7 separate regions of the Homo sapiens genome follow, and regions 1, 3, 4, 5, 6 and 7 are each linked to region 2. The links are contacts of gene promoters, found by promoter capture Hi-C in blood cells and fetal thymus (Javierre and others, 2016). All regions are on one chromosome and are shown on one strand. Each heading gives the region's core, a stretch centred on a gene start or on the middle of the fragment in contact. The rest is flanking DNA. Distances are from core to core; before and after follow the strand shown.

Evidence for each region. Contacts are between HindIII fragments. The CHiCAGO score rates a contact against its expected background, and 5 or more counts as called.
Region 1: the fragment with the promoter of FRMPD2 here is called in contact with the fragment with the promoter of SYT15 in region 2 in 4 of 17 cell types (non-activated CD4 T cells, M0 macrophages, monocytes and 1 more); the score reaches 7.5 in non-activated CD4 T cells.
Region 3: a fragment that was not itself captured here is called in contact with the fragment with the promoter of SYT15 in region 2 in 6 of 17 cell types (M1 macrophages, erythroblasts, non-activated CD4 T cells and 3 more); the score reaches 12.3 in M1 macrophages.
Region 4: a contact is called between a fragment that was not itself captured here and the fragment with the promoter of SYT15 in region 2, in 4 of 17 cell types (erythroblasts, M1 macrophages, M0 macrophages and 1 more). The highest score is 14.3, in erythroblasts.
Region 5: a contact is called between a fragment that was not itself captured here and the fragment with the promoter of SYT15 in region 2, in 5 of 17 cell types (M1 macrophages, M0 macrophages, erythroblasts and 2 more). The highest score is 20.8, in M1 macrophages.
Region 6: a contact is called between a fragment that was not itself captured here and the fragment with the promoter of SYT15 in region 2, in 5 of 17 cell types (M1 macrophages, M0 macrophages, erythroblasts and 2 more). The highest score is 16.4, in M1 macrophages.
Region 7: a fragment that was not itself captured here is called in contact with the fragment with the promoter of SYT15 in region 2 in 6 of 17 cell types (erythroblasts, M0 macrophages, fetal thymus and 3 more); the score reaches 8.3 in erythroblasts.

The regions. Positions count from the first base shown.
Region 1 is chr10:48,273,075-48,276,055 of GRCh38, forward strand. FRMPD2 (FERM and PDZ domain containing 2) reads right to left here and starts at 1,622. Exons shown (of 29, transcript NM_001018071.4): 1 at 1,469-1,622. The coding sequence starts at 1,493. The HindIII fragment of the contact is 27,288 bases long and covers 1-2,981 here.
Region 2 is chr10:46,577,656-46,580,605 of GRCh38, forward strand. It overlaps SYT15 (synaptotagmin 15), which reads left to right and starts at 1,473. Exons shown (of 8, transcript NM_031912.5): 1 at 1,473-1,520; 2 at 2,509-2,713. The coding sequence starts at 1,514. RefSeq lists enhancers at 1,338-2,215, 2,216-2,950. The HindIII fragment of the contact is 10,756 bases long and covers 1-2,950 here.
Region 3 is chr10:48,182,369-48,185,165 of GRCh38, forward strand. It overlaps FRMPD2 (FERM and PDZ domain containing 2), which reads right to left. Exons shown (of 29, transcript NM_001018071.4): 19 at 2,406-2,513; 20 at 2,198-2,314. Among named protein-coding and RNA genes, the nearest start is that of FRMPD2, 91 kb to the right of the region's middle. The HindIII fragment of the contact is 1,014 bases long and covers 1,020-2,033 here.
Region 4 is chr10:48,228,020-48,230,742 of GRCh38, forward strand. The region is part of intron 10 of FRMPD2 (FERM and PDZ domain containing 2); the gene reads right to left. Among named protein-coding and RNA genes, the nearest start is that of FRMPD2, 45 kb to the right of the region's middle. The HindIII fragment of the contact is 2,029 bases long and covers 448-2,476 here.
Region 5 is chr10:48,200,091-48,202,899 of GRCh38, forward strand. FRMPD2 (FERM and PDZ domain containing 2) reads right to left here. Exons shown (of 29, transcript NM_001018071.4): 15 at 1,138-1,294. Among named protein-coding and RNA genes, the nearest start is that of FRMPD2, 73 kb to the right of the region's middle. The HindIII fragment of the contact is 8,259 bases long and covers 1-2,809 here.
Region 6 is chr10:48,299,958-48,302,771 of GRCh38, forward strand. No RefSeq gene overlaps it. Among named protein-coding and RNA genes, the nearest start is that of MAPK8, 5.3 kb to the right of the region's middle. The HindIII fragment of the contact is 7,001 bases long and covers 1-2,814 here.
Region 7 is chr10:48,248,645-48,251,589 of GRCh38, forward strand. FRMPD2 (FERM and PDZ domain containing 2) reads right to left here. Exons shown (of 29, transcript NM_001018071.4): 2 at 2,922-2,945; 3 at 377-534. Among named protein-coding and RNA genes, the nearest start is that of FRMPD2, 25 kb to the right of the region's middle. The HindIII fragment of the contact is 3,018 bases long and covers 1-2,870 here.

The DNA of each region.
Region 1 (2,981 bases), core at 372-2,871, 1.7 Mb after region 2:
TATACATCCTTCATATCAGTAAAATTTATAATGAACTTATTAGATGCATATGTATTTGTTTTTGCTCACAGTGCTGGCAGCACCAGCTTGGAGACCTCCCCTTCTCTACATTCCACTGTTGTTTTCTTAGGTTAGGCCATCTGTCATCATTCCAGGTTTCATCCTCTCCAATCCCACACCCATATTGCTACTAGATTAATCTTCTTAATATTAAATGCAGACACGACACATCCTTCATTAAAACTACCAGTGCCTATCTGGGACCTTCTGAGTGAACTCTGGGCCATAGAAGGCCTTCCTTGCTCTCCCCTGTTCACCTCTGCAGCCTCCTTTCTTATCAGATTCCCCTGTTCCCACTTTACTAAAGTTAGGCCAAACTGCCTGCTGTTCCCAGAGCATGCTTTACTTATTCATGCCACTGGGCCTTTGCATGTGCTTTTCTCTGCTTGGGATGCCTTTTCCAATCCCCCTGCTCCCAACTCCTGCTAGTGTTCGCTTAGCATTAAAGCCATGCTCAAGCAACACCTCTCCCAGGAGCCCGTGCCACCTCCATTTCGGCACTTGCTATCACCGCCAGTTTTCATGCAGGTCCAGCATTCTGCCCCCCGACCCCCACTGTCCTACAACCTGGAAGATCCTCTGGGCTGGGGGAGACATCCCCAGCATTTGGCATGTGGCCCCAGGAGATACCAAGTAAGTTCTCGTTGAATTAATGAACTACTTAATTGGTTTCAGCTACAGCCTATAGCAAATCACAGGATTTAGCCAGGAGAAATAGACACGACTCATCTCTGAACTCAATTGTTGCTTTAAAAAAAAAAAAAAGTTGTTTACACTGTTGAAAACCTCAACTGAGTTTTTTCTTTCCTTTAAGCATACAAATAAAGCCAGGTGAATCATTTCTTTTCCATTGTTTTCTGGAAGTCAGCTAGGCATACCCTGAGTCTTCTTACTTTAAACCACTGATACTCTTTAAGCAATAACCAAAACACTTGCTTCTGAAAGATAGTGACAGCCATGATTTACTGGGCTACTCAAATGCTCCAAGTATGTTCTAAGTGCCTTACGCGTGTCACCCCATGAATCCTCAGCAACATCGTAACGCATGGGGCATTATTATCCCCATTTTACAGGTAAGAAAAACGAGTCTTAGGAAAGTTAAAAGAGTCATTTGAATTTGCACAGATGCTGAATAGCAAAGCAGTGATTCAAACAAGGGGTGGTCTGATTCTAAAGTCCATGTTTTCTCTTCTGAGCCCATTCTTTATTGCTAAAAAACAAATACAATGTCTATCAGGCTTAGCCAATGGCCTGGAACAAATAATACTCCAAATAATACCACAAAGGGCACTGACACAGGTCCTTGCCCAGCTGTGTTCTTCTTATTCCGGATACCTAGACCCAGTAAGAAGTTTGCCCTTTCCCTGACCAGATTTATAGGAGAAAACTGAATGATGCCAAGGAATACCTGCGTCCTTCGTTAAAGGCTGCATCCAAAAGTCTCCGTGACCAGGTCTAGGCCTTCATCATGGGACAACTTTCCAACAAGGAGCAGGGGTCTCTTGCAAGTCTGTCCGCGGAGCTCCCTGCCACCAGCACTGTTGCCGCTGTCTTTGTTTACTGCTTGTCACTAAGCACTTGCTGCCCAGCGAGTGAGTCAACAAGGCCCCTTCCCTTTCCTGCCACCACTCTCATTCCCTGGGTCCTGCGCAGTCTCTGGCCTGTTAGCAGGCACTGCCACCCCAGCAGCCTGCGTCCTCAAAGCCAGTGACCCGTGAGAGAGCCAGGAAGAGCTCAAGTGGATTAGGTGCCACTGAAGGCAATGGGATTGCTGCTCAGCAGGGCTTTTACGCTGATGTCTCTTTATCTCCTGGCCCAATCAAAAGAAAGAGCTCTGCAAGGAACTGGGGGCAGCCCCAGAGCAGAGGCTTAGTGTCATCAACTCAAGAGTCCTCCATGCCCTTTCATAGTGTCAGACATTGGACCTGCAACCAACAGGACAGGGAACCATGTGAAAGCAGCAGGAGGAAATGATAACCTGGATCTGTCTGTGAGAAAGCAAGAAAAATGTGGTTAGAGAAAGGGGGAAAGGAATTCTTACTCTTTCTGGTGCTTGGATTCAGAAAGGAACCAGCAGAGATGGGGAACAGCAAGAAGTAGATCATAGCTCTGTAGTAGAAGGGGCAAAAGAACAGATCTCTCAAGCCCTTTAAATCAATAGCAGTGTCAAAACTGAGACGTATTTATTTAAAAAGAAAACATGAGTTTTTGCCTGACTACAGAATAAAATACTAAAATTTGAGGCCGGGCACAGTGGCTCATGCCTGTAATCCCAGCACTTTGGGAGGCCAAGGCGGGCAGATCACGAGGTCAGGAGATCGAGACCATCCTGGCTAACATGGCAAAACCCCGTCTCTACTAAAAATACAAAAAATTAGCTGGGCCTGGAGGCGGGTGCCTGTAGTCCCAGCTACTCCGGAGGCTGAGGCAGAAGAATGGCGTGAACCTGGGAGGCGGAGCTTGCAGTGAGCCAAGATCGGGCCACTGCACTCCAGCCTGGGTGACAGAGCGAGACTCTGTCTCGAAAAAAAAATCTGATGAAACTCAGTGCTGGTGAGGGCATGGAGAATGAGTACTCTCATATGCCAATAGTGAGATTACAGATAAGTGCAACTTCTCTGCAGGGAATTTGGTAATATTCATCAAATTTGTAAATGTACATATCCTTTGTAAACCCAGCTGCTAAGAAGTAACCCCATGGACATTCTTGCAAAAGTTCACCAAAGCATCTGAGAAAGGATGCTCTTTGCAGTGTATTTTGGTAGTAGCAGAAAACTGAAAGCCACTGAAGTGCCCATCAACAGTGATTATTGTAGTTCACACACAGTAGAAAACCAGCTATGCAGCTGTGTAAAGGAAGGAAGTAGATCTGTGTGTGCTGGCATATAACAATTGCCTAGAAAATTCTTTAAGTGACAAAA
Region 2 (2,950 bases), core at 223-2,722:
CCAGTTAAGCGCACAGCTGAGGACAGTTACTGGGTGAAGTGGCCTGGGTCTCCGCCTTCTCATGCCCCCACCGCCCAGACCCTAGAAGGGGAGTGGCTGCGGCCTCTGCACCCTGGCGCTGAGGGCTCCCAGACCCGGCCCAGTGGGGCACCCCAGTTCACCACCCTCCTCGCCTTAGGTGAGCCAAAGCCCAGGCAGGGTGGAGCCTCACGCACACTGACTGCCCCCTAGGACAGGCACAGGTGACGCGGGGGTGTGGGACCCAGGCTATGACTCTGGACATAACCTTCAAGGCTGTAAAACGAGAAGGTCCATCCCCCCAAAACACGCACTCCCCCACAACCACCCCCTCCCCCCCCCCACACACACACACTCCCCTGCACCACAGATACACACATTCCTTTCGCTCCCCACTCAGACGCCTCGAGGCCTCGGCGGGGGAACCATAGGGGCGCGACCAGGGCGCGCCGAGGTGTGACCAGAGAGGACACGCAGCGACCTTACTCCCGCCTTTCCCGCAAGGCGCGTTCGCCAGCCTGGACTAGTGGGCACGGGCCCTGCGTTCTAATAATCACCATAATAATAGGCGCTGGGTGTACAGAGGGGACCCAGGCGACGCTGGCCTCCATCCGATAACCACCGTAACAGGGGCTGGGCCGCGCCGCTCCTCCGCTCTAAGTGCTCTTTACATGCTTCTTAAGTTACCGGCAGGCCAGCCGCCCTTACGAGAGCCCCTCACGGACATTAACCCAATTGAGAAGACTGAACCCAGCTTACGAACGTTAAGTTGTCCCAAATCGCAGGGCTGGCGAGTGAGGAGCCTGAATTGGAACCCAGGAGCTTCTGGAACCCGCTCCAGAATTGCGCTCTCGACCGGTTTGTCCGCTGAGAGCGAACGGGTGCGCGAGCGCCGCATCCCTGCCCAAGGCCATCAGGCAGGCAGCGCTGGGGCCGGGGACCCGCGCGGAGACTCCACCCCGGGATCCGGGAAGGCTCCCCCGAGCCGGGGTCGGAGCTGCGGCTGGAGGGGCCTCGGCTTGAGGAGGATCTGGGAGGGCGGGGGCTCAGTCCTGGCCACCAGGTGTGAGGGGTCGGGTGCGGAGCCCTGTGTCAGACGCGGCGGTGAAGGCTGTAGCCCTGCTCTCCGGGATGGGGGTGGTACTCTCACCCCACCCTGCCCCAAGCCGCAGGGAGCCCCTGGCGCCCCTGGCGCCCGGGACCCGCCCTGGCTGGAGCCCTGCGGTTTCCGGGAGCTCACGGTCGGCTCTGCGCCCCTCCACCGCCGGGCCTGGGCCTGGGCCAGGGACGGGCTGGGGCGGGACTGCGGCCTCGGGGCGCTGGGTCCCTGCCCCTGCCGTGCACTGCGCGGCTCCCCGCGCCGCAGCTGGGCACCAGCAGCACCACGGACCGCCCCTGTGCTCGCCCGACGGCGCCCCGCGGCGCTTTAAGAGACGGCCTGGCAGCCCAGCCCCAGCCGCCCAGACCGGCGAGACCAGCCTGCGGGAGCAGCCCCATGGCGGGTAAGCGAGCCTCGCCTCCCCAGCCCAGCCCCGGCCCCTCTGCGACCCTTCCAGCACTTGCCTCCGCCCCGCCGCCCCCGCTGGGGTGCAGCGCCTGCCCTGCCCGGCCTCGGCGCGCTCTTGGAGGGGCACTGGGATGGAGTAGACGCTGAGGCCCGCTCTTCGCGGTCAGTTGCGGCTTAGGAGGTGTGGGGGGTCCGGCCTTCTCACCACCCCACCCAGTGCAGATCCCTGAGACCTGAATGCCCCGCGGCCGCACGTCACCCTAAGGGAGGCACCTTTTTGGCCCGCCCCAGGTGGCCAGCGGTTGGAACCCAGCGTCTGAGCACCCCCGGGGCGAAGCCTCCTAGGTCCCGCAAATGCGGACGTGTGAGGGCCAGCAGCAACGGGGTCTTGCCCCCTTTTCCTCCCCACCTCGTCCACCGCGTCGCACCAACTCCCCTAAGCGCGTGCTCACCTTGATAGAGGGCTAGGGGAGGGAGCGGGTGTTAGAGAAGAGTCCAGCCTTGCAGCAGGTTCCAGGGCCCCAGAGGGTAGAGGTTTGATTGCAGACCAGGGGGAAGGTACCTTTCAGGGCTTTCCTTAACTGACTGCGTCCACACCCCAGCTCCCCTCCTGGCCTCAACAGGAGCCCAGGGGATATGGAGGTTCTGGTGAGGGCAGGTTTGATTTCTACTCAGAAGCGCAAGGAAATGGCTTCTTTAAGCCAGAATCCCAAGGGCAGGGCCAGCTGTTTTCCAAGGAAAACTAGAAGGTTCTGCCCAGGGCTCTCAGACCCTGGGGTAAACGGCTTCTCCTCTGAGAGCTGGCGGAACCTAGCCAGCAGCATCCCTCCCGGAACCCATCCCCAGCAGGCCTGCTCCTATCACTCCTGAGATCAAACCCAGAGGCAGGGTTGCTGCCCTAGTTCTGCCCCAGCAGGCCAGGGCTGTGAGGGAGAGTGGCTTTCCCAGGCAGGCATCATAGTACTGGTGGTCTCTGCCCCCAGAGCAGCTGGCCCTGGTGATTGGGGGCACCATCGGGGGGCTGCTGCTGCTGCTGTTGATCGGGGCAAGCTGCTGTCTGTGGAGAAGGTTCTGTGCCACCCTCACCTATGAGGAGCTGCCTGGGACACCAGCCATGGCCACCACAGCTGCCTCCAGTGGGCAGCGGGACAGGCCCTGCCAGCCGCATGCTAGGACCCAACTGAGCAGGTGAGGCAGGATGTGGGGCCAAGTGCGCCCCTGGAATTTCCCTCAGGGTGGGGTCGAAAAGGAAAGTTCTGTTTATGGGGGTGCCTCTTCTATGCTGCTTCGGTGCTGGGAGCTATCACAAAGAAACCCCAGAAACCTCACATCAGCTATTAGGCAGGTGTTATGAAACCCATGTTCCAGGTGAGGAATCTGAGGCTCAGTGCACATAAGCAACAGGTCCAGAGAACACAATTAGTA
Region 3 (2,797 bases), core at 277-2,776, 1.6 Mb after region 2:
TAGTAGACATATGAGCTGGGAGACCTTTTTTGGTAAAGGAAACTCAATTTATTGTAGACCATGACAGATGCTCATGATGGACATTTTATCTGTCTGATCCTGATCTCCAATCTAGCCCAGCTGCCTTAACAGCAGCCTAAAGAGATAGAAGAAAGTCATGGTAGTCAAGTCTCTGCCACGGAGACCCAGCCAGCATCACCAAGGAAACATCTTCCTCTGGCAGTGGCCCAGCTATGAGGAAACCCCACCATGATGAAGGCAGCATTGCCAAAAGGTGGCTGGGGTGCCACAGTGAAAGGACATTTTATTCCCAGCCATTGTGGGAAACTCATTGTCTGGAATTCTAATGTGAGGTTGTGGTTTGAGAATAGCAGACCTCGAGTACTGCTTTTTGACAACCTCCATCACAGCAGGCCATCCTTGGACTATGCTGAATTGTGATTTGGTCACCTGCATTGTGTTTCCTGACAACACATGGGATGGTTTGACTGCTCCTGTCAGTGGAGGATGTGGAAGAAAACACAGGGATTGCTGAACCACTGCAGAAAGGAGAGCAGTGGTGCTGGGAAATCCAACAGACAGCAAGCCAGAGACTGGCATTGGAGATGTACTGAGGCCAGTCCCTGAGAAGGCTTCAACCCCAGGATGAAGGGTGTGGGGCTGAGACCCCAGCATGGCCACCTTCCACCACCCATAGCTTCTGGACAGGGGAGCTGCATGGCACTGTGTACAGGTACAAGAGTGAGAGAGCATGCATGCAGAAGTGTTCAGAAGGCAAGGCAAATGCAGTGCCTGCATTTAGTACCTAGAAAATGCTGGCTGGTGTGACAGGAAGTTCTCCTGTATACAAGGGAAAACTGTACAACACCCCTCAAGTGTGAAGAAGCAATCATGAGCCTGAATTTGCAGGCGGTCTGCTGTTAGTTTACAGGATCACCCAACCAAAAAGCAGCATTGGTCTCAGGAAACTAGGGAGAAGGGATGTTAGCCTACTCCCATTACTTCCTCCAGGCTCCTCAAGCTTGGTCCCGATAAAAACAATAGTATTTTCCTTTAATATAGGCAGTTGTTGCTCTCTCATTCTTATCTAAAGGATGAAGAAAAGCATCATCAAAAAGTACTTTACTCTTTAGGTTGATCAGGAACATGCACATCAAGTAAGAAGAGCGAGCTTGCCACGAAAATTCAGCTTTAAGAAAAGGCCAGGTGCAGTGGCTCATGCCTGTAATCCCAGCACTTTGGGAGGCTGAGGCGGGCAGATCACTTGAGTTCAGGAGTTCCAGACCAGCCTGGCCAACATATTGAAACCCCGTCTCTACTAAAAAATACAAAAATTAGCCGGGTGTGGCAGCGCGTGCCTGTAATCCCAGCTACTCAGGAGGCTGAGGCAGGAGAATTGCTTGAACCCAGGAGGTGGAGCCTGCAGAAAGCCAAGATCGTGCCATTGCACTCCATCCTGGGTGAAAGAGTGAGACTCCATCTCAAAAAAAAAAAAGGAAAATCAAATACCGCATGTTCTCATTTACAAGTGGGAGCTAAATAATGAGAACCCATGATCACAAAGAGGGGAACAACACACACCAGAGCCTACTTGAGGGAGGAGGATGGGAGGAGAGAGAGGATCAGGAAAAATAACTATTGGGCACTATGCTGAGCACCTAGGTGATGAAATGGTCTGTATAGCAACCCCTGTGACACGAGTTTGCCTGTAATAACAAACCTACACATGTAGCCCTAAACCCAAAACAAAAGATTAACAAAGAACAGTGCTTGTCTCCTCCCCAGCTGATTGCTATACCTATACAAAATATAGAAATTTTGTATAGGATTCTATACAAAATATAGAAATCCTGGAGCCGACCCTATCAACAAGGACTTTGGGTGGCAATAAAAAGGTCCTCCCTGCCATGCAAGGAGAGTTGACAGAAAAAAAAAGACTGGTTGTATCCAGCCGTGTCTAACAAAATTAGAGTAGGTTACTCCCTTTCAGCAAGACAAGCATGGTAACGCCCATTCTGCCCCTGAAATTGCAAAGCTTATTAATTTGTGCCACTACACTGCTTCTTTGCAAGCCAACACCATGAGGAAAGCAATATAGAAGACCTACGTGGACTTCAAGGTCTAGTACCTCACAGTAATCATGTACTCCTGAAAACAGGGGAGCCTCTTAAGCTCCCAAGAGTGGGTTAAAACATACCTTTTGACTGAGAAATAATTAATTCTATGTTGTCAGGGGAATTCTGGATCATCCTAACAGCCATGTTGAATGTGAAGCCCTCCAGACTGATGTGATTCAGGGCTAGTATCTGCCCTCCTAGAAAAATAAAACATCTCAATAATCCTTCAAGGAAATAAAAAAGAGTGGTTTCTTAAAACAGCATCTCTAGTAATTTAAAAAGATGTACCTGGTTTGATCGTTTTTGCTTTTTCTGCTGGTCCTCCAGGTATAATAGAAGATATAAAAATGCCAGGGTCAGCTTGGCCTGAATACTCTCCCTCATTAATGACAAACCCTGTAATCCAAGATGATAGTCCATGATAAGATGATACTTAGTGATTTTGCTGTTCAGAGAGGTTAGGTTATTTCCCTCATATCACACAGCTACCAAGTGGCATTAGCTGATAGTTACAGTCAGGTCTTCTGATCCTCAAATAGAGGATCTTTTCTACTTTACCATGATACTTGGAGAAAGGTGGATTGTTCCCCATTAGTAAGCACAGCTAAAGCTAGGAATACAAACCACCAATATGCACTGGATTTTGCTCCAGTAGATAATGAGACATAGGAAAGAAATGA
Region 4 (2,723 bases), core at 212-2,711, 1.7 Mb after region 2:
AAACATACAGTAAAAATAAATTGCTTGATGTGAGACAAATGTGACAATGAAAAAAGAGAGTTAAAAAAAGCCATATGTTTTAACTTTTAGGTTCTTTGCTTCTGTGGTATTTTTTAATACTTGCCTGATTTACTAACAATAAAAATAACGTAAGATAATGACTACATTTGTTTCATGTCTTATGGAGTTTTTATAAACAATTCAAACATAATTGTTAAAACCAAGTGAATTAATAAATGTAAATATAAATGAAATAGAGTATAAGTAAGCTTTTCAACAATGATTATGTTTTATAAGATATATCTACTTAAAATGGTTTATAAAATCTTTTTGGTTACTTAAAACATTACAGTTATAGTAAGTTAAATGAAATGATGAATATTCATTTAATAGACCACTTCCAAATAAGATATTATGCTGAAATATTAGTTGTTGAACATAAGTTTAAGCTTATATACTTTTGTCTCCTCATTGTAGAGGAACAAAAGATATTTGGGTCTGTTAATTAAAATGCTCTATTCTACACTGAAAAAATGTGCTATGAGGAAGCATATATTTCTAGGTGTTATAAAATAATGTTTTCACAAATTTGTAAAAGGCAGTTTATGATTGCTTACTTTCTAGTTTTCTGGTTTTCACTAGAAATTAAAGTTACCAAGAGTTTTAAAATTCCAATTACTAAATGTAATTCTGTACACAAAGTGTACAAAAATGTAAGATATGTTTGGGTGAGAAAAGTTAAAAGGAAGATATGAGAATGTGTTTTTATTTGTTGTCGTTTAAAAAAGTAATTTTCTCTAGTTGGAGGCTAGTTGAGGATTGCTTCAAAACAAATAAATAAAGAAAAAAGTGATATCAATAAAACTGAATAAGAACATTATAAATGGTTTGAGAAAATTGCAAAAGGTTTATGGAAGATGAATATTATGAAAGAAATTTTTGTGTGATCAAGATAATTAAAATTAGAAGAAAAGTATTTATTTATGTTTTTCTAAAATTGAGCCTTAATATCAATAGCATACTTGTGCAAAACTATTATTTTGTCTTCTCTGTTAATAAAATACAGTTATATTGCAGTATTAGCCTCTACTGTTAATATTAATATGTTTTTCCTTAACTTTTTAGTAATTGGCCTAGAAAACAAAAATTTTGTGTTTTATCAGAATAGTTTCTTGTGCTCTGTGCTGTATTTTATTAGCTCTTTTATTACTTAAAAAAGTGATCTTCTCAATATTCAAAGAGCTAAGTTTTGACCATTATGTATTTGCCTTTTGAAGAATTTTAATTATCACTCTGGTTAAATGAATGACAATTATTTTACAGTGACCAGTGATTCTACTTTGATCAAGGGTTTTAAACCTTTTGACAGTTTTGACAGCTTCCCAAAATCAAATTCTAAATTGAGTCTTTTTGACCTTGAATTTACTTTGGGTCTTTCCAGCTGGGCCCTTGGAAGCAACAAAGGATATGTCCCTCACCTTGTAAAAGAGGTGTTAAACTAATTGGGTTTATTCAATATGTTAAAATGCATGGGAAACATTATCCAATAATAAGTGGTGCCAAATCTTTAAGTTATATTTATAAATATAGTTTTGATATAAATGTTCCTAAAATTGTACAAAATTGCTAGAATTCCGATATGTCTTAGTATAATATTTGGTTATTATGTTAAAATGATATATGCCATAGAAACAATGAAATTTATCTGTAAATTGCTGGTTATAATAAACTCTCTTCAGATTTTTAACCATGGCCATTCTAAGTCCTTATCATCCATGGAATGTTATGGTGTTGGTACTTTTCTAAACGCATTTGCAATCAGCTACAGTCCAAAAATTGCTTTTTCTTCAAGGAGGTTCACAGAAAGGATGGAAAGAATTCTGACAAGTTACAGGTTTCTGATAACTTCAAGATCAAACCATTGGACTAAGGAAAAATGTCCAGGACACTAAAGAAGAAACAGAGTTTGTGAAACTGCTAACAAAGATCAAGCAGAACAAGAATTAATTACATGAGGCTGAACGAACGGATGAAAAAGAATAATGGGTTTTTATAATTTTTACTTGAAATTTCACTGGTTCTTTAAATGTTTTGTTTTCTAGATTTAAGGAAACTTTTTCCTTGTATGTTATCTATAGTTTACAACAATATAATAAAGTATACTCTTGTGAACAAAATTAAAATATTTGCTTTTTCTCCTTTCCTGATCCAACCAGAATTCTAAAACTATCCATAAGCATTCTTATTTTTATGATAATATAGTTATTTATATAAGTTCAATAAAATATGCTCTCTTTATAACAGGATACAATACTTAAAATTGGTTATATTACTAAGGCTTTGACTTGGATGTCATATTTGAAAATGCACATAAAGTTACTTCAGCCAAACTGAGGTTTGTCTTGATTTGGCCTCCTAGCCTTGAGAGACTTTTAAAAGTCAGGCTGAGATTCTTATCAAAAGTTCTAGCAGAACAAGCTTCAAAGGAGCCTACGTGGTCAACCACTATTCTTGATGCACTTATGCATCAAGGCCAAACTTGATGAGGCTAAACTTACTTAGTAAACAAATTTGTCTTATTGTGATTATCTTTAGTAAAAATGGGGGTAACTGTAGAAAAGAAATTATGCTTCTAAAGGAAGGTGAAAATTGTATTACACCTGTTATCTGACTGTAGCCCTGTTCATTGCTTTTGTGTGTTTCTAATCTACCTGTAGACTGAA
Region 5 (2,809 bases), core at 303-2,802, 1.6 Mb after region 2:
TACCTTTTGCCCAAAATTGCTTTATGTTTCATAAGTAAATAAAAACTAAAAGCTAAAAAATATAAATAAATAAATAAATAAATAAATAAATAAATAAATAAATAAATAAAACAGAGCCAAGCAACCATTTGCTGACTAGAGGTCACACAGGTACTCTGAGTTCCTTGAAGAACCACCCTTCTGTTTAACATTGGGACTTGCAGAGCTCACCTGAACCAACCAATCAGAGCTCACCTGCCTCCTCGAATCAGGGCTCAGCTGTATCAACTAGTCAGAACTGCACCGCATCAACCAATCTGAACTAAGCAAGTTTGAATCTTTCATTTGAATAAATGAACTTGATTGGGAACCTAGGTGGGAGTTTTATCTATAAAAGCCAAACCCTCTCTTTGTTCTCCAGAACACACCTTTGTTTTATACCAAGGTTGTGCCTTCTGGGTTTGCAGACTGTGACAGGAATAAAGTCTTTTTCCTTCGAATTCCTTTTCCAAGAACTTTTGTTCATGATAGGTCTGTGTTGCTAGTGACTCCCACACTGAACAATGCAGGTATTTCCATCATTGAAGAAAGTGTCATTGGACGGTGCTAGCTAGATACAGTCTTAGAACTTCCTTTTCCTCACTTAGCACCCTATCATGTACAGTTTCACATATCATCATTGTCCAAAAACTGATTTTACTGTCTGAATTATATAGATGCTCTTGGTTTATTTATCTGGTCTTCTATGTTTGGATACTTAGATTGCTTTCAAATGGTCACTGTCATAAATGACACCCTAGTAGACATCCATGGGCAGCAACTTTTGTGTATGTCTCTATTGATTATCTTAGGATAAATGTCTATCTACAAGTAAAATTATGGGGCCAAGAGGACGTGCACTTTTTAAGGCTTTTGATGTATATTTCCAATTGCACTCTGAAAAGATCATATCAATTTATCCTCCCAGTGTTATTTATTTTAGTGCTTGCCAACATGAGAAAATAAAACTGTATTTCATTTTTATTGTATTTCTGTCATTATTAGAGAGATTTACAACTCTATTAGAGGTCCCCAGATCAATTGTATCTATTTATACAAATTATTTTATGAAATAACAAACTTGTCAAAGTGTATATGGAGAATACAGCTTCTACTCACCAAATAAAACATGGGAAGGCTGCCCAGAGCCCATCTGTGCATTAAACCCATGCTGGGCTGAGCAGAGGTCCAGTAAGTATTTACTGGTCTTGGCTGAATCTGTGACAAATGTGTGCTTCTTCCCAGTGACACTGCTTGTGATGGTGAACTTTTTTTGCTGAAGGAAGCAAACACAGACTTTAATACACTGATCATCCACAACCCTCCACTGACGCACAACTGCAAGAAAATGCTCGGTCCCTTGGTTCCACACCCTGTAGCAGGCATCCACGGGTGCATGGCAGATGCTGTCTGACTATGGCCTGATATTTTCCTTAGCTTAAAGAAAATCCCTCTTTTTAGTTTTTCCTTCATTCATCAATCAAATTGTTTATCAAACAATAACTATTTTTCAAGGAGTGTGCTGGGTGAGAAGAATATGAAGTGGGTCAGGTATATTGACCTCAGCAAGGACGGAACCTAACCCTCAGTGTGCATTATGACAAGCCACTAAGTATTCCCATTGTTTTTATTGTACAAACTCCAAGAAGTTGTAGACAAAATCTCAACTAGTTGGGTTATGAAAAAGATAAAAACACCTGTGTGTTATAATATTTCTGGCTATAATGTAGCAGGTTCTATTCTAAGTGCTTTATGAGTATGAATTTATTTTATCTTCACAACTACAGAATAAGAGAGATTCTATCAGTATTTTTATTCTACAGATAAAAAAAAAAAGAGCAAGAGTCCTCAAAATGCCACAGGAATTGAGGTCACACCACAAAGAAACGCTTCCCCACATTATACCTTCAAGGCCCACATACAAAGTGATAATATTTGTCCAGCTCACTGGGCTAAACTGGTGAAGATGACCTATATGAGGCTACCTGTATAGAGCCTTATGAAAAAAAAGTACAAATTTTTGCAATATATTATTCTGATAAGAACAATAAAATATATAGGTGATATTAAATATTAATTCATATAAAACTTCCAAATAAAATCTTCATTCTAGATATTCTATCTATTTCAATAAGAACCTTCAGCTTGCTCCTATAAAGGTAACTTTATAGAAACAGGGCTTATGCTTGAAAGGGCTTCCGGAAACCCCTGATCCTCTTTAAGGCTTATCTCTTTTAATTCCTGATAGTCACCATTTCTAAGAAACTCCATTCACGCATGTCAGATATCAACAAAAGGCAGATAAATATTCATTGCTTTTTCTTTGAGAAACCCCTTTTTACCATTAACCTAATTTTAGATAAGTTTCTCATTCTCTGTATACTCTTTACTTTTACTGACAAGTATAGTGCTAAGCCTCCTTGTGCTAATAGGAATGGATTCTGAATCCAATTGAACTGTACTATAACTAATATTTCTTTAAATAATGTGTTGTCTCAAGCATTCATAGATGCTGCTCCGCCAGTCGTAATAATTCTTCTTTAGTACTCAACTGATCATTTCATCCACACTTTTTCAAAGTCGAATATTTGCTTGAAATCCATACACTTTGTCAGTACACACTGATAGGCTTTCATGCAATCCTGACAATTTTATATTAAGTTTATTCAGATATTAAGCATTTTTTATATGAATAAGTCACTCTTTTTTTGAGACAGGGTTTCGCTCTGTCACCCAGGCTGGAGTGCAGTGACACAATCATAGTTCACTGATACCTTGAAGTGCTGGGTTC
Region 6 (2,814 bases), core at 182-2,681, 1.7 Mb after region 2:
GCACTCCCAGAAATAGATTTCTGCCCTATCTACCCTGGATTGCTTATTCCTCAAGCATGGCTGGAGCATTTGGGGAGGAATGCTTATTTATTTATTCATTTAAGACAGGTCTTGCTCTGCCACCCAGGCTGGAGTGCAGTGGCATGATCACGGCTCCCTGCAATTTCAACCTCCTGGGCTCAAGCAATCCTCTCACCTCAGCCTCATGAGTAGCTGGGACTACAGTGTTCACCACCAGGCCTGGCTAATTTTTTTTTTTTTTTTTGTAGAGTTGGAGCCTCACTTTGTGCTTTGTTGCCCAGGCTGGTCTCAAACTCCTGGGCTCAAATGATTTTCCCACCTTGGCCTCCCAAAGTTCTGGGATTACAGGTGTAAGCCACCATGCCCGGCTTCACTTACTTTCCTGTGTAGCTGTCCCTCCTTTAAGAGACCCACACCTTGAAGGGCTATGATACCTCCCTCTGCCTTTTCCCAAGCCCAAAAACCCTACTCACCTCTGCTAGCTTCCCAGACCACGACAAGCCTCAAGCTGGCCAGGCTGACCAGCTATGCCAACCCTCAGCTGAGAGTGAATCCTGTAGGTTTTTGGCAAGAGAAGCAATGCAACCTACCCTCAGAAGTGAAGCTGTCATTGACTGGGAATCTGCTTCAGGAACAGGTTTAAGAAGCCATTGAAAATTCCTTCAAATTGTCTTCTAATCTCCACTTTCCAGAAGCAACAGCACCTTCTCAGGAGCATCAGAGGGCCTCAGGGATCACCTCTGAGTCAGGAACATGAGAATGCCCCAGCAGAGGTCGCTGGCAAGGCTGCGGCAGGGAAACATCACTTGCCCTCTGAGGGGCTCAAAACCCTGCCACCTGCAGAGACTCTTAACTCTCCAGTGATGCCAGAATCTCTTTCTCATTCCCCAATGATGCCACAAAGAGTCTTTTCAAATCTAGCCAAGAATGAGTAGGACTGTTGGCCAAGGTTGGGAATTCACAGGGGTCTCTCTGCCAAAGGGTCATTGGTGGAATGCCTGCCAGTCTAGCATGAGCTCCAGTTTTACATCTGAAGGGTGAGGGTGAAGGCCAGGAGGTAAAGGTGGAGATGGGGTGGAGGGGGCCGGTAATGAAGTGTTGTTTTCTCTCCACAATGGGACCTTGGCACAAGTTCTACAGTGCAGGAGCTATGAAAGGCAAAATTTCACTGGGCTCAAAGAAATTCTTAGCTAATAATTGTAGATGGGGTAGGGTGTTGATGCTAAGAGATCTGGTAAAAAGCTCTCTTCTAAAACATTTATTTATTTAAAACAACAAATATTTTATTTACAGGTTGTATGACTTCAATAATATATTCTTTCTCTCCTATTCAATTTCCTTTATATTTTTTTCACCAGGGGATGAACACTGAATATCTTCAGTTTCTGGGTACTATGGACTGAATTGTGTCTCTGTCTCCTCTAATTTCATATGTTGAAGCCCCAGCTCCCATTGTAATGGCATTAGGAGGTGGGGCCTTTGGGAGGTGATTAGGGTTGGACAAGGTCAGGAGGGTGGGGCCCACATGGTGGAATTACCATCCTCATAAGAAGAGACACCAGAGAGCTCGCTCTCTCTCTCTCTCTCTCTCTCTCTCTCTCTCTCTCTCTCTCTCTCTCTCCCTCCCTCTCCCTCTCACTGTGCCATGTGAGGACACAGCAAGAAGGTGACTGTCTGCAAGCTGAGAAAGGTGACTTCACCAGAACCTGCCCATACTGGCAAACTCCTATCTCAGACTTCCAGCCTTTAGAATTTTGAGAAAATAAATTTCTGTCACTTAAGCCACCTAGTTTATGATATTTTGTGATGGCAGCCCAAGCTAAGGCAGTGGGTGTGGATGGAGAGAGGACAATTTAGCATATGTGTAAGATGTGGGAGGTGGGCAAAACATTGGAAAAAAAGAACCAATAATGAAAGTAAGAATAAAGAATGAAAGCACAAAAGCTAATGGAGAGCAAGATGTTCTGTCCAGTTGCTCTGAGGTTTTAAAAAAACAGAAAATACGCCAAATTTCTTAGGGCACTGGCTTTCATTTTTGGCTACAAATTAAAATTACCTGAGGGGATGTGAAAATAGCTACAGAAGCCTGGGCTCCACCCCAGACCACTGGAGAAGGAGCACCAGACATGGAGCCTGGGTGTGGGTAGTGTTTTGTTTTGTTTTGTTTTCCTTGAGACGGAGTCTTGCTCTGTCACCCAGGCTGGAGTGCAGTGGTGTGATCTTGGCTCACTGCAACCTCCACCTCCCAGGTTCAAGTGATTCTCCTGCCTCAGCCTCTTGAGTAGCTGAGATTACAGGCTTGCGCCACCACGACCAGCTAATTTTTGTATTTTTAATAGCGATGGGGCTTCACCATGTTTGTCAGGCTGGTCTTGAACTCCTGACCTTGTGATCCACCTGCCTCGGCCTCCCGAAGTGCTAGGATTACAGCTGTGAGCCACCACGTTCAGCCGGGTGTGGGCAGTTTTAAAGCCCCTCCCCACCCAGGTGATTAAAATGAGCAGGGTGACTTGTGAGTCAGTGTCCTGCTGCTGGGATTCTCAAACTCAAATGGGCATCAGAAATGCCTTGGGGGGGCTCATTAAAACACAGATTGCTGGGCTTCTTCCTCAAGGTTTCTCACTCAGCCGGTCTAAGGTGAGTATGAGAATTTGCATTTTCGACAAGTTCTCAGCTGATGCTGGTCTGGGGAACCACAATTTGAAAACCATCGTCTTAGAGGAATAAATGCTGACCTTTTTTTTTTCCCATGGAAATATGCATGTGTACTCAATCTATAAACTTGACTAGCTT
Region 7 (2,945 bases), core at 112-2,611, 1.7 Mb after region 2:
TTCCTAGTTGAGGACGTGTTGGGTCATTTTGAGGTGTCTTGCTACATACTGCCAATGGTAACAATGTGCCAGACCACTTAACCACAGCTTTTCAACACTTCTTTTTGAATATTGATAATAACCTGATCAATTAAGCCACATTAACCCCATTTTACCAATGTAGAAATTGGGGCTCAGAGAAGTGGACTTGCCCTTGTCCATGAGCTAGTAAGTTGTTGACAAGAAATCCTGGGAATAAAACTCTTGAAACCCACTCTGGCTTGGTGTTGAGAACCAAGCTCTGCAAGGCTGAGCTGGGAGCTGGGGAGGCTGCCGCTGGGACAGGCCTTTCCCAGGGCACAGGACTCAGAAGTTGCAGAGTAGCTGCACAGCTTACCTGAGATGCATCAGGCTGCTCATCCTCACTCTGTCCCTGTAGCAGTTCAGGGGCCTTGAAAGGAGCAGCCTCTATATGAGAAACACGGCCTTGGAAAGAAAGGCTTCCAGCTGCAGAAAGCAGGGCTGACCAGGGGCAAACCACATAGTCCGAGGAATCTGAAACCAAGCCAGTGATGGGGCTGTAGAGACAGAGCTTCCATCTGGGGTGCCAGCATGGGACTGTGCCCAGCAGGTGCCTGGCAGTACCCATCTCTGGGACTGAATGTGAGCAAGACCCAGAGGAGACATGGAACAGAATAAATTCAACCCTGATGCATGGGAACATGTATAATAAAAGGTGACTGTGGCCATGGCCAGGAAGTTAGCACCTGCACCTAAATTCATCTGTGGCCCAAGAGTCTCAAGGTAAAAGGTAAAGAGAGGGTCAGGCACACCTGGAATTTAGCACAAGCCTGAGTTCTCTAGAGACAGACCAGGATCCAAGGCAGCTGGTCTTCTGGGAGCTCCGTAGCTGTTCATCAGAACCTCCAGGGTGGGGAAGAGGGAGAAGATGACGCTGAAGGCACAGGTGCACAGCCTCCTCCATAGGCCCATGCTGGGACCCATCGCCCTCACAGAACATGTGTAATGTTTCACTCCAGGAGCCTCTGCTGTATGCACTGAAGCCCCCAAGCACGTGTGACCTGTGAGTTGACACCTGAGTGTGGGTACTCAGCATTTGTTCTGGACCTTAATGCCTAGGAGCCCCATAGTCATCCTTGGATACCGCTACCTTAGGTCTCTCCTGTACTGAGAGCACAGTGTGCAGCTTTCTCATTAGAGGGCTCTGAAGAGACACTATAGGAGGCCTTATTACTGAGAGCACAGTGTGCAGCTTTCTCATTAGAGGGCTCTGAAGAGACACTATAGGAGGCCTTATCTCTCCCACAGTTTCTGGAGTTAGTGCAAGTGTGAGGCCACCTGGAGGTTGGGCTCTGTACAGAACACATGCCCAGGATGTGAGGTCACTTGGCCACCTCAAGGCCGGAACTTGACATGTGACCACCTTCTCAAATCTACACAGGACTCTAGCGGCCCTCCTGCCCACACCAACCTCCAGAGAGGTGACTCGCCCGAGCCCACCTACACCCTAAAGGGTCGCCCCAACCCCCACCTGCAGTGCGTGCTCCCTACCTGGCCACCGGTGGCTATTGCCTGGGCCATGACTGCAGACCACCTCTGGCAGGGCACACCAGCAAATTCTACCATCATCATGGGCTGCAAGCACAGCTCCTCCCACAGATCTGAACCCCAAACAGGGAAGGGGGCTTCCCTTCAAAGTTTATCCCTCACTGGGTACCTGCCCTCAGCCTTAGGAGACCCACTAGCATTTTCTTTTTCTTTTTCTTTTTTTGAGACAGAGTTTCGCGCTCTTGTCACCCAGGCTGGAGTGCAATAGCGCGATCTCAGCTCAGTGCAATCTCTGCCTCCCGGGTTCAAGTGATTCTCCTGCCTCAGCCTCCCAAGTAGCTGGGATTATAAGTGCACGCCACCACGCCCGGCTAATATTTTGTGTGTGTATTTTTAGTAGAAACAGGGTTTCACCATGTTGGCCAGGCTGGTATTGAACTCTTGACCTCAGGTGATCCACCCGCCTCGGTCTCCCAAAGTGCTGGGATTACATGAGTAAGCCACCACACCAGCGTTTTCTTATGCCTTACAGTTGCTCTTCAAACACTGTTTAGTAATTCTTTCTATTAACCTCCCCTGTTTAGAACACAGAGTAGGTCTGCCTTTTTTTTTTTTTTTTTTTTGAGATGAGTCTTGCTCTGTTGCCCAGGCTGGAGGGCAGTGGCACAATCTTGGCTCACTACAACCTCTGCCTCCTGGGTTCAGGAAATTCTCCTGTCTCCGCCTCCCGAGTAGCTGAGATTACAGGCGAGCGCAACCATACCTGGCAAATTTTTTTTTTTGTATTTTTAATAGAGATGGAGTTTCACCATGTTGGCCAGGCTGGTCCCAAACCCCTGACCTCAGGTAATCTGCCCACCTTGGCCTCCCAAAGTGCTGGGATTACAGGTGTGAGCCACCGTGCCCAGCCAGGTCTGCCTTCTGATGGGGCACAGACTAGTGCAACATCTGGTGGACAGAGTGTAGGGGTGTCCTGGGTGACCACACCCTGCCTCTCATCTCTGGTTATGCCCAGAGACAGCCCATGTGCTGTTAGACACCCATAGCACTGCAGCCACTCTCTTCCTAAATCCTCCCAGCTTTGCATGCCTGGAAATGCTGCAACACCAAGGCAGAAGCAAAGCCTTTCTTTTGACTCTGCCACATGGCATGGGTCCAAGAGTCAGGCCTGCCCTCCCAGTGCAGCTCCAAGGATAGGTGCTATTCTTCTACTCATTCTAATACCTCAGAGTAATCACAGATCAAGCAGCAGCAACCTTGTTCTGTGCTCTCAGAGGTTGATTTAAAAAAGCAGCAGCAGCCAGAACTGTGTTTGTGTGGGAAGCTTCACATACAACTCCCTGTGATTTGACTGCCCCCAAACACTCTCTTACCGTTGCGGAGGTCTTCCAGGAGCT